Linked DNA regions of Homo sapiens: region 1 is linked to region 2. The links are contacts of gene promoters, found by promoter capture Hi-C in blood cells and fetal thymus (Javierre and others, 2016). All regions are on one chromosome and are shown on one strand. The core of a region is centred on a gene start or on the middle of the fragment in contact, and the rest is flanking DNA. Distances in the headings are between cores, read along the strand shown.

Region 1 (3,902 bases), core at 1,384-3,883, 2.9 Mb before region 2:
TTTTAAATTGTTTAATCCAGTCAATTCAAAGTTAATACATTAAATGTAGCTAAGAGACACCTGACATAGTAAGCGATAAGTTCTAATAATGTTAGTGTCAATAATAGTCCTTTAATGCTACCCTCTTCAAAAATTGGTGAGTCAACAATTTTAAAATAAATGTTTCTTTAGCAAATTACAGTTACTGTAGTATAGCTGTCTGTGACAAATACAAATTTAATAGAGAAGTTGAAGCTTGTCAATTTGTCCTTGTTACATTTAAATAGAGAATTTAAAATAAACTCTGGAAGTTAGTTTGTAGGAAAAAGAACAATAGTACACAAAGTATAGATAGCCTTCCCGCCATCTAATCAGAATATTCAAACACTTAAATCAAGACCTCCAAATTAAAGTACTAAACAGTAAATGTAATTTAAAAAAAGGAAGTCTCTCTTTACTGCAGCCTTCTGTCATCAGTAAAACAGGAACATCCCAGGAACAGGGAAAATCTAAACCCTTCAGTTAATGCAGTATTTTAACACATAGGCTTAATGTTGTAGAGGCTTTCAGAACCTCAAATCTAAGAAATTTTCAGTAGTTGCAACAAAAAAATAAAATTGTGTTGTTTTAGGGAAATTCACTTTGAAAGCCAAGAACTCTAACCTTTTTAGTTAAAAAGGTTTCCAGGTTTTTGATGTCCTTCCTTCCTAGGCTACATTGAATAGTTCCACTGCATTCCTTTGTTACACCATTTCAGTAACAATCTCCATGGCACCCCTCCCCCAACCCCAAACCACCACAAACTACCCACCTTCATCAAAACACAGACAAAAACATGTTCCAATCAGCCAAAGAAAACTCTCTTTAAACTAAGTGGAAAAATCAGTTGTTTTCAATTTAAAATATTTCTGGTGATTATATAATTTTTAAAGACATAACAACACTGTAGGTTTGGAGAAGGGGTAAAACAACTTAAAGGATTTGTGAAGAAATGGGCAAAAGTATTCTGGTTTTGCACAGTTCCAATCAGTACAATCTTGATATTGTGTTCAGTTTTTAATTACAGACTAAGAGGCTACTTTTCAATGAGTACTTCCCAACGCTGCATCCACTTAGGCATGAATCCCCACTGCACTTACTAGATTAGATGTCTTGACCTTTAGCCAACCATGACTTTGCACTCACCTTAGCTCTTCCTCTGGTAACCCATTTACTCTCAAACTATCGGGGCGATCTCGTCTTCTCCTGTAGAGACCTGAATGTGAAAGCTCTTTAAGCTGTAATGCAGTCATACTTCTCTCCACACATCAATTGCTGACACTTTAAAGCATTTATGCTCAGCAGTGTGGCTGCCAGGGGAAAGCAGCGTCCCTTGCCGAGGGACCTCAGCACACCTGACTCAGCCTTAGAAACCTCCAGGCAGACCAAGCTGCTGAAGCACAGCTTCCTGTTTCTCACTGGTACACACCCTCCTCAGCAAGGCACAACTTGCCTTATCTCTGGGCCTCGCACCTTGGGGAGGGGGGAAGCGGTGACCAAGAAGGCAGGTTACTTACTTGTTTATTAATAAGCAAAATTTAATTGTTATGAATAATCACACCAATTCCTTTAAAAACCTTGCCAGGACCACTCTGAACTAAAATTGGGCTAAAAAGCTCCAGTAAGGTAGTCGCTAAAGAAGGGTCCTGCTGTTTTATTTGCCAGGAAATCCATCAACACTTCACAGGCAGTTGTCAGTTTAAAGAACCGCCTGGTTATAGTGAGCTCCTTAGGGACATTTTCCTTAAAAAGGAGAGGAGGGGCAGAATTCTAAAGGGAAGCAGTCCAATTCCTCCCCCTTACCACTCCACTCTAAATCCTCTTCAGAAGGGAAGGAAGTGTCTTTGGTCCACCCACCCCTCATTAAATATTACTGAAGAATTCATAACTGAAAGGAAGATGGTTTCTTCCTTCATTCATTGTAATTACTGGCTGTGAATAATGCCCTCTCGTAGGAAAGGCCACCCCGGCTGACACAATGCTGTTGGCTTTAAGGTGGAATGGGTCCTATATACCCTGTATTTATCTGTACATTTGACCTCGGAAAGTGACAATGTTAGGAAGGTTTTGGGTGTGGGGATGTGTACAACAGAGGACAGGTTTGGGGAAAGTCCTTCGTCATCCAGCTCAAAGTGATGCTACCCAACAGCAGGCACAGCACGGCCCTCCAATCCACTTCAGTCCCACTGGGAACACAGGACCACACCACAAATACAGGCTACCTCCCAGCAAGATCTTAGCCAGTAGTTTGACTAAATGGTTCTAGGAATTTTTCTCTGGGCAATTTATACCAGCCTCTTTTCCTTTTAGAACCTTCTCGACAAGAACACAGAGAAATGGGTCTGATAATATTTTTACACTAAGAGCTAGAGAGTTATTCCCATCTCTGAGAGAATCTGCTCTATATATACAAAAATTAAGGCAACCCATAGGAAAGGGAAGTCTACATCTTATTCCTTCACTTAGGACACAGATGCTAGTTCCCCTGAGGGCTACCATTTGTTACGCTAGGTCCACGGCCCCAGGAAAAACAAATGACTTTTCATAATTGCCATTCAAACACAGCATATGTTTTTAAAGATGCAGGGAAAAAATTTACCATTTTTGTCACTACACTAGATTTAATGAGTGATGAAACACGTTTTAAAAAATCAGTTGACAGTTACATCTGTCTCCGGGAGGGTATACAAAAAACCGGTAATACTGGCTGCTTCTGAGGGACCTGGGGAGACAGAAGCAGAAGGAAGCATTTCCACTACACACACCACTCTACACCTTCTGAACTTTGAATATATTGCCACTCAAAAACAAATAGAATGTAGAAGATTTAAATACCAAACAATTTAGTTTACAGTAATAGAAACATTTCAATTTAGAACTCCTGAAGTATCCAATTCTTTTTGTTTTGTTTTGTTTTGTTTTTTGAGACAGAGTCTCCCTCTGTCACCCAGGCTAGAGTGCAGTGGCATAATCTCGGCTCACTGTAACCTCCGCCTCCCGGGTTCAAGTGATTCTCGTGCCTCAGCCTCCCCAGTAGCTGGGATTACAGGTTTGCGCCACCACGCCCAGCTAATTTTTGAATTTTTAGTAGAGATGGGGTTTTGCCATGTTGGCCAGGCTGGTCTCGAACTCCAAGCCTCAAGTGATCGAACTGCCTCGGCCTCCCAAATTGCTGGGATTACAGGCGTGTGCCACCGTGCCCAGCCTTCGTTTTTTAAAATCAAGACAAGTTAAAAAAAAAAAAAAAGAACAGAAACAACCACTAATCTTCCTTGTTTTCCCCCACCATCAACACAGAATAGACGCCTAATGAATAAAACACAAATCAATTGTATATTCATTGTAAATACAGAAATCCCAACATTAAATATGACCTGTCTCCATAGGAAATGTAAATAATTGCTTATTTTTAAAAGAGTTTTTAAAAATTAATGCAGCTTGCTGACAAGGGAAAACAACTTGGTGACTACTAAAGGTTAACCAGACAGGAAACACCTAACTGTGTAGGATGAATCCTGCATTTGATGAGACTAGTGTTAAAAGGATGTGCAGGGGGTTAGACGGGGCGGGGGAGAGCAGTAACAGGGACAGTTACCAAGCCATAAAACAAACGAGCTGAAACAATTCTTGCCCTCTGACTTTTAAAAAGGCTGTACTGACAAACAGGAACTTCAGCAAATCAATGCTTATGTTCTGATGAAACTGCCACAGCTGAGTAAAATTAAATTCTGGGCCTTTGGGGAAGGCCTTTTTAACCAGGATCTTTTTTTTTTTTTTTTTTTTTGAGACGGAGTCTTGCTCTGTCGCCAGGCTGGAGTGCAGTGGCACGATCTCAGCTCACTGCAACCTCCACCTCCCGAGTTCAAGCGATTCCCCTGCCTCAG
Region 2 (3,741 bases), core at 647-3,146:
AATCAAAACTACATCTAACCAACCTCCAGGGCAGAATATACTGAGGTAGGATTTTCCCTCGTGTTCACTTCTTCACAAGCAGGTTAACACTTGCTTCTCAGGAAACCCCTGTTCCAAACGTCAAAAAACCTCCATGTCTAGCCCAATCTCCAGGTGAAGTCAATTTCTTCTCCACGTGTCCGATGACTGCCATTCTCTTTACGTAAAACTCGCAAGGCTTGAATCCTGTTACTAATTCACCTGCTTATCTATGAAGCTTGCAAAGTGAATTGAGGGAGTGTTCACACGCACAGTTCCGTTTTGGTAAGTTAAAGCGGCCCAGGTTAATTTCATTTTCAGTCACTTTTGAGACTTGATAACTACATCTAAAACAGAGGCATGAAAAACACCCTGAATCACTTTCATTCCTACACAAAATCCCTTCCGAGAAGCGGGGACTGCGCCTGGGCCAGGAAGGGACTCCCCTACCTGTAGGTCCCAGCAAGCCACGCCCACCGGCCTCTCAGGGTTGTTTCTTTCTGGGTCGAGGGACGGAGCTGGCCCTTGCGATATTTTAGGCCCCCTCCTGCCCACACTGGGGCCTGCTCATCCCATTATGCAGATGCAAACTTGGCAGAAGCAGCCTTAAACCTGTTGGCAAAATAAACAAAGCCAAATAAAGAGGAATCTGCCAACCTGAATTGTGTGAAGTGGCCAAGGCCGACTCCACGCACGCTCGGCTTTGTCCCTGAAGCTGTTACAATACTAGTTTAAGTCAGGTGCCTGGGGTCCACCAGCCAATGACCCCTAGCATCCACCGCAGACCTTCACAGAGATCCCCATTGTCTACAAATTAAAGCGTTTTGCAAATTAAACCCCTCCACACAATGCCAAGCTAACTGTGCTCATAAGGCAGTTACCCTCCATGCCTTAAAACTCACATATCAAATTTTTCCAAAAGCACTCGGTGATTAAATCGCCCTGAAAAAAACCGAGAGAGCCGAGCGATTGTGAGAAACTTTGGTTCATTCAGGTGGCTGTTAGAGTCCTGTAAATCTGGGGCAGGGCGCAGAGCCTGAAGCCGGGCACAAAAGCTCCCTTCGCCGAAGCGAGGACCTCCTTTATGCAATGTGACAGCAGCTTTGTGCGCGAACATAAATAGTTGTAATAAACACGGTTAAGTTCTCCCGGCCGATCGCGGCCTCCCCCGTCCCTGCGCCGGGGCCCTGCGATCCGCGGCTATTCTTCCCCGGCACACGCGCCCTGGCGACCCTGGCCACCGCACGGTCCCACGCTAGCCCCGAGCTCCGTGCCGGCCGCCCGCCTGCAGGCCAGGCGCAGCCTGCGCACCCGGGGGTCTCCAGTCCCCGGGCCCCGCAGCCGGGCCCCCTGCCCTGATCCTCGCCCGCGCCCTTGGCTGGCGTCCCCGCCCCTGGGCCGGCCCCCGATGGTGGGGGTTAGGGATGGGAAGGCGGGCAGGAAGGTGCAGAGCCGGGAGGTGCCCGGCAGTCCGCGGTCGGGGGCGCCCAGGCCGCGGCAGGGCCGAGAGCACCGGAGGGGCGCGGAGGGGACCCGCTCTCCTGGCCCCTTCCCGGGCGCACCCCGGCCCGCGAGCCCCGCCGCGCTCCCAACTCCGCCCAACGGCCCCAAGTTTGTGGCCCCCGCCCCACGCCCGCCTAGCCGCGCTTACCTCGCCGTGGGCCGCCCGCGGAGCCGGAGGGCAGCGGCGCGGGTCCCGGGGCGGTGGCCGCGCTGCGCCCGCCCAGGCGCCGCTCTTTGTCTGCGCCGCTCCCTCCTCCCGCCGCCGGGCGGACGCTGCCGGCCCGGGCGGACCCTGCCGGCCCGGGCGCCGCGAGCCTCCCGGCCGCCAAGCCCTCCCCTCCGCCCGCCGCCCGCTCGGCCGCGCGGCTCCGGCCTGACGATCCCCGCGGCAGCGGCGGCGGCGGCGGCGGCGGCGGCGGCGACCCTCCCCCGGCGCGCAGCGCCCGCCTCCTCCGCGCTCTTCCTCCTCCTCCCGCGCTCCTCCCCGGCCGCGCCGTGACGCCGCCCAGGGGCCGGCCCAGGCCCGGGCGCGCGGGGCGGGGACCCGAGACCCACCTGGGGCGCCCCCCGTCGTCGCCAGGCTCCGCGCCCGGGTCCCGGTACGGGCGCCGGGATAGCGCGGGGCTGCGGGACGCTCCGCTCTGGAGGCGCAGCACGGGCCGGGCGCCGGGGGCAGGAAAGGGTCCCCACGCCCGAAATTGCGTGCGGGCGGTGGGGGGCAGGGTAGGTGGGTGGGGAGGAGAGTGAAAACACAGACGGCAACTTCCAGCCTGGGATGACTGCCGGGTGGGCTTTGCGTCCTCTTTTTTGTTTGTTCGTTGTTCTTATCACGAAGCTCTAGTTGCTGGGCAGCCGCCCCCCTCCCGGAAGCATTCCCACGGCACTCAGCTAAGCAGGCCTGTTGTCCATCAGAAAAGTGACTTAAATAAAAATGTCACTTCCTCCCTGTAATTGCTTGTGGGCATTTTTATTTATTTGCTTTGCATCTATTTACTTTCCCAACCAGACACATTTTTAGTCCATCATCCCTGTCCGAGGCACTTCCTAAAAGAAGAAGAAACTCGACCTCTGTTGCCTCCCAGGCATCCAGGCCAGCCCCAGCCTGTGGAATCCTGGTTGCACACCCGTGGGGGCAGAACCCGAAGAGGAGCTGCCCGAATGTGCCCCTAGAAGGAGTGTCGCTAATGATGGGACCGTTCAGCTCACCCAGCCTCGAGTTGTGGCTAGCCTATAAACAAACTTGGAAGATGAAAACCCAAGAGCAAGGGGAAAGACACAAGTTTCCCTTTCACAGACACATGCATCCGGATGTCTTTTCTCCTCCCCATATGGTTTCCCAAAGGAAATCCTAATATTCAAATGATTCTGATTTCCTGGCAGGATAGCCTGCATCCATGTTAATGAGATTCTTTCTTAGGCTCCTGGTCTCTGCTTACTATTAAGGCAATAATAATTTACCCAAGGTTACAAGGCTGTATTATTTGATTCACTCATCTCCTGCTTCCTTCCAGAAGGGAAGTACCCAAGGATAGGTAACTAGAGTCAGCGTAGCTTTGAAGTCAGACAGGTGAGTGTTTGACTGTTGACTTCCTGAACTGTGTAACGTTGCACAGGTGGTCCTCAGCCTTTCTAAAATCTGTCATATGGGGAGATAATATTTACTTACCTCCTATGTGAAGTACCCTGGCAGTAGGTAGCCCTCAATAGCTCAGTAAGTGGAAGGAAGCACAGTACACTGAGCAGGAATCAGGTACAAGCTCAGGGAATCAGAACAGCCTCATTTTTCCTTGTTTTGACCTTGTGAAAGAAGCTACTTCAGTTCATCCTTTTGTGCAAGTTTTGTGTTACTAATATCTAGCTTTACAATAAGAAAAGAAGAATTCTAGTCATCAGTCTGCCCAATTTTAGATTAATTTACTCAAAATAAGTATAGCAATATTGACCCAGTTTGTAGCTTGTTTGCTTTGTAAACTTTCACTGAATCGTGGTTCTTGCATGCCTCTTCTTTCTCTGATTCTTTAGAAGTCACCGATGTCATTCTCTATCTAAATCCAGTGGCCCTTTATCAATCTTTATCCTGTGGAGTTTTCTGAAATATGTGGCATTTCTGCTATTTCCTGAAACACCATCATCTTTTCATTCATCAAACACAGCCAGTTCTGATTCTCTTACCTTTCTGACCTGCCCATCTGCCTCCTCTAGAGAGGTTGTTGTCTTCCC

The links. Contacts are between HindIII fragments. The CHiCAGO score rates a contact against its expected background, and 5 or more counts as called.
Region 1: a fragment that was not itself captured here is called in contact with the fragment with the promoter of NCK2 in region 2 in 1 of 17 cell types (activated CD4 T cells); the score reaches 5.1 in activated CD4 T cells.

Annotation. Positions count from the first base shown.
Region 1 is chr2:108,618,724-108,622,625 of GRCh38, reverse strand. The region is part of intron 1 of LIMS1 (LIM zinc finger domain containing 1); the gene reads right to left. Among named protein-coding and RNA genes, the nearest start is that of LIMS1-AS1, 58 kb to the left of the region's middle. The HindIII fragment of the contact is 4,794 bases long and covers 237-3,902 here.
Region 2 is chr2:105,743,067-105,746,807 of GRCh38, reverse strand. It overlaps NCK2 (NCK adaptor protein 2), which reads right to left and starts at 1,896. Exons shown (of 5, transcript NM_003581.5): 1 at 1,670-1,896. RefSeq lists enhancers at 586-635, 736-805 and silencers at 1,176-1,565, 1,676-1,735, 1,926-2,245. The HindIII fragment of the contact is 4,864 bases long and covers 259-3,741 here.